2 separate regions of the Homo sapiens genome follow, and region 1 is linked to region 2. Evidence: promoter capture Hi-C in human tissues and cell types (Jung and others, 2019). All regions are on one chromosome and are shown on one strand. The core of a region is centred on a gene start or on the middle of the fragment in contact, and the rest is flanking DNA. Distances in the headings are between cores, read along the strand shown. Region 1 overlaps KCNMB2-AS1 (KCNMB2 antisense RNA 1). Region 2 holds the start of ACTL6A (actin like 6A).

Region 1 (4,740 bases), core at 1,985-4,484, 1.0 Mb after region 2:
CATTATGAGTCATCACTATTAAAATGAAAATTTGATAGATACATAACCAGAAAATGTAGCTATCTGTTACAGACACAAGTGCTAATTATATTTTGGAGTATATAATTTATGCTCTGAATAATACAGCAAGTAACTGCTTTTGCCCTATTATGACTATTTTTCCAGGAACAACAGGAAAGTTAGTTTAGACACTGCTTCCTTACTATTATATTTCTGTGAATGTTGAAGCTGACTCACTTTGAAGTGATCTACAGTTCCACATTAGGTGCATACAAAAGGCATTTTCTAGTATAAACTCAAATGCATAAACTTAGAAAGCAATTAAAGACAACAGTTGAAGAAAATCTAACATCAAACCAGCATCTTATTTCTAAAATAGAAATGAAATGCTTTAATTGGTCCATATCACTTTTCACAAAAATTGTCCTTCAAATTTAAATTTCTCTAAAAAAGTTTTCATGAAATCATAATTTCTAAAAGTTTACATTTCTGGAGTATATTTGCCCACATCACATTTGATACTTTTAGAATAAAGTTATTGGGTGGCAAGGCAAATATTAATAGTTACATTTCCATCTAGGCAAATTGAGGATAAGGGAGGTTTAATGATTTTTTTTGCAATCACGTAGCCTGTGCGTATGTCCTCATAATCCAGTGTTCTTTTTATTTCATAAAACTTTTCACCTAGGTCCTGTATTTTTTAGTTAAAACTTCTACTAATATATGCAGCAGAAGATTTTTTAAAAAAAATTTTAAAATAAGAGAGACAACAAAGAGAAGCTACGCACTGGTAGAAAATATTCACAAGACATATTTTATAAAGGACTGCTATCCAAGCTATACAAGGAACACTTAAGACCTAGCAATAAGAAAAACACACAACCTGATTAAAAAATGTTCCAAAGACCTTAACAGACACTTCACTAAGGAAGATATATGGATGGCGAATAAGCATATGAAAAGATGCTCCACATCATATGTCATCAGGAAAATGCAAATTAAAACAACAACACACTACCACTATGCACCTATTAGAAGAGCCAAAATCTAGAACAGTGACAACACCAAATTCTGGAGAGCAACAGGATGCAAGAGCAACAGGAACTATCATTCATTGCTGGTGGAAATGCAAAATGGTGCAGCCACTTTGGAAGACAATAAGCAAAGCATACTCTTACCATATGATCCAGCAAACAGGCTCTTTGGTATTTATCCAAAAGAGCTGAAAACTTATGTCTACACAAAAACCTGCACACAAATGTTTATAGCAGCTTTATTCATAATTGCCAAACTTTGGAAGAAACCAAGATGTCCTTCAGTAGCTGAAAAAAATAAACTGTGGTACACCCAGACAATGGAATATTATTCAGCACTGAAAAAGAAGAGCTCTCAAGCCATGAAAAGACATGGAGGATAGTCAAATGAGCATTACTAAGTGAAAGAAGCCAATCTGAGAAGTCTACCTACTGATTCCAGCAACCTGATGTTCTGGAAAAGTGAAAACAATGGAGACAGTAAAAAGATCATTGGTTCCCAGGAGATGGGAGGTCAGGGGAGGGATAAGTGGGTGAAGCACAGAAAATTTTTAGGGCAGTGGAAATAGTCTGTATAATACTGTAGTGACGGATCATGTCATAATACATTTGTCCAAACCCATAGAATGTACATCACCAAGAGTGAACCTTAATGTAGACTATGGACTTTGGGTAATTATGATGAATCTAAATATAGTTTCATCAATTTAAAAATTAAATATAGGTTCACCAATTTTAATCAATGTACCACTCTGGTGGGAGATGTGGATAACGGGGAAATCTCTTCATATGTGGGGCAAGGAATACAGTGAGGGGGTATATGAGAAACCTCTGTGTCTTCCTCTCAACTTTGCTGTGAACCTAAAACTGCTCTAAAAAATAAAGTTTTTAAAATAAACTACAGAAAAAAGCATAAAATAAGAGATTGCTGGAATATATATATATATATATATATATATATATTTTCTCCTTCTATGTGACAAATACTCATGGCTTTTTAAGAAACATTTTGTTTTATTGCAACTTATGTTTTTAAGATAGAGTTGCTAAATATTTTTAAAAGGTGAACTATAGAAATTCATAATAATTCTAATTACAGACTCAATATTGAATAATTCTGTAATAATTGCAGCTGCCCAGGACTTCCTGACCGGTGGGTTACAAGCAAAAACCCACCCAGTACGACCACGATTTGGGTCATGTTCTTGGATTATTTGATTGCTTTCCCGTCTCTCTTTATCACAATTAGGAGAGCAAGTCCTATAGGTCCTAACCCCCACCACCAACCTTGTGGCAGTTAGCCTTACCTGCAGGTTTTATATAGAGTTATTACCATTCTGTGTGCATGTGGTCAAATGGGAGAAGGAGGTACATAATAATATAATATACATATTAATTAATTTTATCTAAATTTTCAGAATAGTAACATCCTCTCCAACACCTCCCTGATTCCCCACCAAACACAGATAGAGATGCTGCAGAGCCCACTCTTGGATCCCATGAGAAAGCACTGGAATAAGCTAGTTTAACCACTTTCAGAAGCAATAGTTCTTTGGCTGAGGCATTGCATTTGGCAGAAGCTTATTGGGGCTTCATTACCATCCTTCTGAAGCCTGTCAGAGTACTGAACATAAATCAGTTTTAAAATAAAACATAAAATAGAGCATTGACAGTTGCTGAGGTTTTATTTCATTTGGAATCTCCTACTTCCCAGGACCTAGCTGCAGTCTTCCTGCTTATTGGAAATATGGACTATATGAATGTGGCACTCCAGGCTCTGTGTATCTATGTGCAATCAATGGGAAGATGATACTGGTTGCTATACAACATAGCATTAGACATGATACCTGCTGCTTTCAATATTATGTTAATTAAAAGACATCTGTCTTCCAAACAAAATGGAACAAAAACAAAAATCTTTGGTATGCAGAGAGCTCTAAGGTTAGCTATAAAAGGCAAAGATTTATGTGTATGTTGGTATTTACATTTATGTGTATATTTTATTAGCTCATTTTATGTTGCTAGATTCTTAGAGTAAAAGAAGAACCACTTAATAAACAAAATGCTATTTAGCAAAATGTGAATATTTTTTGTGAAACGTTCACTTTACAAAATGACAGCATAATCCTGATAAATGTATTGTGTCTTTGCTAGGTGGAGAATTTTTAAGGGCTTATTAAATTCTAGGCATCTAGAAAAGTCTTAATAAATATTTCCTTGTTTCATAATTTACTTAGAAAAGGAATTGGCAAAATGGATATAAACACATACATTTGCATATTGAAGTATATTTGTAAAGTTGCTTTCATAAAGGGTGTAAGTTAGATAGGATGGTAGTGTCATTGTATGTCCTGTTTTATTCCTTAAAAATGAAACAAAAAATCCCTAAACCTTGTTTAATTCAGATTATGAAAGGGATACACACTCAGTATTGAAAAATTGGAGTATCGAAAAAACATAAAAATTAAAAGTATACAAAGAGTATTTTAAAAGTTTCCTATCATCCCACAATCCAGAGATAACTTCTATTATAATATTAAAGAGCATTTTATTGCATCTAGTTTTATATATTTATTTTCTCCTTATCCTTATGTTTTCCATGTTATTTTGAAATCTTTAAATCTTTTTAATAAACATATAGTATTTTGTCATATGCATCTTCTGTAATTTTTTTCAACAACCCTCATTGGTTAACACACAGGTTATCTTCCTTTTTCATTAGCAAAATGGCTTTGCTGAAGGCTTAGTACCAAAATCTTCGTCTACATCTCTGATTACATTACTTTAGGATAGATTTCCATGCGTGGATTGTTGGGCTGAAATGTACGAGGATTCTAAAGGGTCTTGGTATGTTCTTGCTGAGTTGCTCTGTTGAAGGGTTGTACCATTTTCATAGCCCCATGAGTGGAGTATGACTCTACTTTTGGCAGAAGAGTCATCATGGTGAGAAAAGAATGCTTTATTCCAGTCTTCCACACAGGTTTATTTCATTTTCTTTTTGCTTTTGGGACTAAAGTGGAAATCACTTGTCATGTAACAAGAGGGGAGAGAAAGGGGGCAAAGGAAAAGAATAACTAGTGTTGGCATTTTTATTTCAGTTTCTTGAAGTAGAAATGTTTTCATTCTTATTGTGGGAAGAGGGAAAGTGAAGAACTACTGCAAAGTCTGGTCCCTAGATTCATGTTGTTCCTATTGTTCAAAGCAAAATCTCTTCCTCACTGTGTCCTTTAAAACCTTGGGTATTTCTACTTCCAGGGGATTCTGATGTAAGCAAATCCACATGGTAAATCTGGTGTGTCTTCCTGGAAAATCAATTTGCTCCAAGACTGTAGGGACAGGAGTTTTGAATTTTTGTGTTCTGTAAAGTTTTTAACAGATGCATAAGATCAGGTTATTCAACATCATTAATAACGTAAACTCAGAAAAAAAGATCAATTTTATGAACTGGGAGTCATTGGGAATCTGGAACTATTTTGTCTTCAGGGAGCTTTTGTGATAGAAGTCAAAATGAACAGAAAACAAGTCCTCAGTGAGAACTGGTGATGCTAATACAAAAGGATGGGAGCGTACAATTTCTTGGCAAGTTAGAAGAAACCTATGTTGCTTGCTATATGGAGAAAGAGTTTATTTCCTAAGATTCAGTATTTTTTTGGTTGTTACACATAAGAAAACTGCCCACATACAAATCAGATCAACATCTTGCTAA
Region 2 (4,984 bases), core at 159-2,658:
GAAGGAAAAATCTTATTTTTGTTGTTTCCTACCTGTAAAATGACATCCTTTATAGAAACAGCATCACTACTAGACACAGTAACAACAGCAATAGTCTGGATTTGTTTTCTGGGTCTCTAACTCATCAAACACAACCCAACACATGAATTATATGTATCAGTGTTTCGATTAACCTGCAGATCTTGCAAAAATGGAGGCTCTAAATCAGTAGATTCTGAATGACGCGTGAGATCCTGCATTTCTAACAGGCTTGCAGGTGATGCTGACACTGCTGGTCCATGGGCCAGACTTTAAGTGGCAAATGCAGCATTATTTCATTTAACCTTCATGCCCACCCCCATCGGCTAGGAATTATTCCATAAATGAGGCCTGAAGTTGGAAAGTTACATAAACTGCCCAAGACCAAAGCGCTTAATAAAGAGTGAGGTGGATATTTCAACCCAGGTCTGTAACCCCCGGCACCTGGTAATCTTCCTACCACACCACAGTCTAATCAAAGAAAGTGAAAAAATAACACGCCTAGGACCCCCAGCAAACTTTCTGGGCATCCTTAAATTACACGTGCTCCTGAATTGATCTCAAACAGACCCGCCCACGAGTCACTCTGGAGACTCCGCAGCCAAAAAACAGGCAAGAGTTACTGAAAGGTGAGGCAGCTCGCGCATGGGGCGCAGACGGGGAGGAGGCAGTACCCTAAGTGGCCGCCGCTTCCCTAGTCAGTTCTACGGCTTGAGGCTCGCTTTGCCACCTATGGGACACTCTGGGAACCCTCCGTCCACGCTTGCAAACCGCCGGGACCTTCCAAGTTTAGGCGGGCGCACACGCGTCCCGACACAGCTGAGTCCAGGAGGCACTCGGGGAGATGCGACCCTGGGGCGGTCACCCAAGCCGGGGCCCGGCGGCCGGCTAGACTGAGCCTCCCGCCCAGCCCCGAGGCTCCCTAGAGAACCGAGCGCGCACCCCAAAACCCTGCTCCTCCGGGGACAGAGGCAGGAAGAGGCCACAGAGAGCCGCCACTTCAGGGAGCCCGAGGAGCACGGCGAGCCGGGTGGGCTCCGGGGGCGGGCAGAGCGTGGGGCGGGGACGGGGCGGGGAGGCCGGGGTCCCGAGAGGGGGAGACCGGAAGGGAACGCCGGGGAGGGGAGGGCTGGGAGCGGCGGTTACAAACCCCACACGCCGAAAAGGCGCGCTCTCTCGTCCGGCCGCACTCACTCACCTCCCCCGTACACGCCGCCGCTCATGGCTGCTGCCGGCGCGACTCCTACCCTAAGGGCTAACTGGCGAAGTGACTGCAGTGGCCGCGACTGCGAGTCTCGAGGAGCGATAGCCCCTGACTCCCTTAACTTCCACCGCCACCCACCTCAGGCAACAAAGCGGCGTCCACACACCCCGGAGCTCAGCCACACTTGCTGGCTCCTCCTATCAGCCAATCACTAGGGTCCAGGCCTAAGTCTAGCCAATCAGAATGCGGCTGCGCCGCATCCCCGCCGCGGCCCAGCAGGTTTAGCCAATCGAAGGCAGCCATGGGGGCGGGAAAGAGGAAAGCGACAGCAGGACAGAAGGAGTTGGGTTGCGGAGCTGGAGGGGGCGGAGCTTCCCGGGTGGGCGAGGGAATGGGCGGAGGCAGTGGGAGAAGAAGGAGGAAGGCTGGAAGAAGCATGGGGGCGGGACTAGGAGGTGCGTCTGGGCGCTGAGGAGCGGCGGGAACCCGGGTAGGGGAAGGTAGACCCCTGGAAATTGAACGGGTGTCTCCACGCCGAGATTCCTGTCCAGTGACTGTGGGGAATGCGGATTTCTTTCTTTTTTTCTTCAGAAAAAGTATTTTAAACTAACTTTTATGTTGAAAAAGTAAAAATTTTGCGCTCCACTTTGGGATAGGGGAATCAGTAAATCAGACAAATTGATAGGATCTTGCAGTTTTTAAAATGGTTATTAATAAGTAAAAGAAGAATGAAATTATGCGGTATCCCAGCTAAACCTAGGTAGCGCTTTAAAAACTATTAAAAAACTTACTCATTTCTTTAAAAAAAAAAAAAAATTTCAGGCCGGGCGTGGTGGCTCATGCGTGTAATCCGAGCACTTTGGTAGGCCGAGGCGGGCAGATCACAAGGTCAGGAGTTCGAGACCAGCCTAGGCAACACAGTGAAACCCTGTGTCTACTAAAAATGAGAAAAGTAGCCGGGCCTGTAGTCCCAGCTACGCAGGAGGCTGAGGCAGGAGAGTCGCTTGAACCCGGGAGGCAGAGGTTGCAGTGAGCCGAGATTGCGCCACTGCACTCCAGCCTGGGCGACAGAGCAAGACTCTGTCTCAAAAAAAAAAAAAATCAATTTCTTTTATCCTGTGAGAGGTATTTAAAACAGCTAATCAATCTTCATTCAAGCAAGCACCCAATCCTAAATAGGCATCCCAAAAACAGCCTTAGTCCCCTATTTCTACCAGCCTAGTCCAGATCACCTTCCTTTATCCCCAGATTACTGCAACAACTTGTTGCTGTGTCCCTTTGCCACTCTTGATCAAGGGAGCTTCATCTGTGAAAACGCCCAAACCCGATCAGGACACTCCAGCGCTCAAACCCTTAAGATTGCTGCCTATCCTTGTAATTGATCCTTGTCTAGAGTCTAGACATGCAGTGCCTACTTTTAACCTTAGAAACGATTGACTAAAACCCCATCAGTCTCAGTGGCAGAGGGTGGCAGAAAGTGATGAGGCAGTAGGGTGGGAAAAAAGGCTAGCGGGAAAACTCTTTCCCATTCACTTGACAATATAATCACAGTGTATCTGACCATTTAGAAAAGCCCTATTAACCCAGTGAGATAATGCAGATGTGTGTCAGCACACTATGGCACTAGGGCCAAATCCAGTCTTTTGTGTGTGGGGTGGGGAGGGGAGGTGGGGAAAAGGGGAAGCAGGTGGGAAGACTGCCTTTTTTTTTTTTTTTTTTTGGCCTTGAGCTAAGAATGATTATTTCTGTTTTTAAATTATTATTTAAAATATTTTAAAGAATAATATGTGACAGGTTGGGCATGGTGGCTCACAGCTGTAATCCTAGCACTTTGGGAGGTCCAAGCAGGAGGATCGCTTGAGGCCAGGAGTTCAAGACCAGCCTGGGCAACACAGGGAGACCCCCGTCTCTACAAAAAATTTTAAAATTATCTGGGTATGGTGGTGCATGCCCCCTAGCTACTCTGGAGGCTAGGGTGAGAGGATTGCTTGAGCCTGGGAGTTCAAAGCTTCAGTGAGTCGTGATCTCCCCACTGCACTCCAGCCTGGGTGACAAAGCAAGTCCCTGAAAAAAAAAAAAAAAAAGAAAAAAAGAAAACAAAAGAAAGAAGGAGAGAGATGTGAAAACTATGTGAAATTCACACTTCAGTGACCTTAAACTAAGTTTTATTAGGACACAGCCCACACTTACTCATTTATGACTATTTTGCTCTGTAAGGGTAGAGTTGAGTAGTTGGGAGACAGAGACTATGTGTCCCACTCAGCTGGAGAATACATTTATTACTGGACCCTTTACAAGAAGAGTTTGCAGACCTGAGCTAACACATGTAATATAACCAGCATAGCGTGCATAAGTACCCTATGTTAACTGTTGTCCCCATTATTATAGCTGTCACTGTAGCTGCATATCAAATCCCCAAAATATTTCTTCTTCCAATCTATGTTTTTATGATGTCTTTGACTAGTAGCTGAAGAGTATAAAATATTGAGATGTTTTCTAATAATTAAATATTGAAGAGATGCTATTTGTGAGTTTATAATACACAGTTATCCATTTAAATCAATGTAGCATTTAAATGCCAAATAATTTATATACAGCAAATTAACTAGATTTTGATATCGCTGAACATTGATATCTCTCTTCAATACTATCTCCAACATCTCTCATGTTTGAAGATAATATATCCTAGAAGTAAAATACCTATCTAGTCTAAAAGAGAGTAAAATATTTGTTCCACTTGTTCAGCATTTATCTTAAAACAAAACAGTTCAAGAGGGTTGATGATGAGGACCACGCCCTCTAGCCTCTGGAAAGCCTGAGATGGGACTGTCTCCTCCCCAGATTTAAAACTGTCCTGCACCGTGTGCAGAGTAACCAAACTGTGCAGGAGAATTGTAAATCTGACAGCACAAAGAAGATGGAAGTGACACTCAGATGATTTTGCTTAAAGTCAGGTTTTGCTCCATTTGATAATTTGGAAAAATACTAGAAAACAGATCATTTGTTTGTTCATTCATTTGTAATATCAGGTTGGCTTGGAATCTCTTGATGTCCCATTGGAACCACGGCTTCATTTAATAATAAGCCATTGAAATGAATTTCAAAGGAAATAAACTTCACATTACATCTGATGTTTCAGGACAAATCACATGTTGACACAGATAAAAGTGCACACTTGTGAATCCTTTGATAAATTTTAATCAATAAAAAATGTAATAGGACACTAAGACTATTGGCCCTGAAATATTGAATTGCTGGAGCATGAGATTGTTCAGAAAGAAAACCTATTCAGCCTTCTAAAAGAACTATGTCGGTGGATGGGCATCCTCCATATTAATGACGTTATTTCCTTTGACTTAACAGTATGGCTGTTTTCTATTCTTTTTTTTTTTTTTTTTTTTTTTTTTTTTGTAAAACAGAGTCTCGCTCTATAGCCCAGGCTGGAGTGCAGTGGCATGGTCTTGGCTCACTGCAACCTCCATCTCCCAGGTTGAAGTGATTCTCCTGCCTCAGCCTCCCCAGTAGTTGGGACTACAGGCATGTGCCACCATGCCCAGCTAATTTTTGTATTTTTAGTAGAGAAGGAGTTTCACCATGTTGGCCAGGCTGGTCTTGAACTCCTGGCCTCAAGAGATCCACCTGCCTCGGCCTCCCAATCTTCAATTCTTAGGAAAACTAGTTGAAAGTACATTAAAACAAAAGTACTAACCCAGCAAAATCTGCTTTATGAAATATAAAATATATGAGGGTTGGGGTTTTTTG

What was found. Contacts are between HindIII fragments. The study calls those that stand out against the background at their distance.
Region 1: a fragment that was not itself captured here is called in contact with the fragment with the promoter of ACTL6A in region 2 in 1 of the 25 tissues and cell types used here (lymphoblastoid cells).

Annotation. Positions count from the first base shown.
Region 1 is chr3:178,527,868-178,532,607 of GRCh38, reverse strand. All of the region lies in intron 5 of KCNMB2-AS1 (KCNMB2 antisense RNA 1), which reads left to right. Among named protein-coding and RNA genes, the nearest start is that of KCNMB2, 6.2 kb to the left of the region's middle. The HindIII fragment of the contact is 4,238 bases long and covers 1,116-4,740 here.
Region 2 is chr3:179,559,350-179,564,333 of GRCh38, reverse strand. It overlaps ACTL6A (actin like 6A), which reads right to left and starts at 1,408. Exons shown (of 14, transcript NM_004301.5): 1 at 1,217-1,408. The coding sequence starts at 1,241. RefSeq lists a silencer at 1,317-1,546. The HindIII fragment of the contact is 12,889 bases long and covers 1-4,984 here.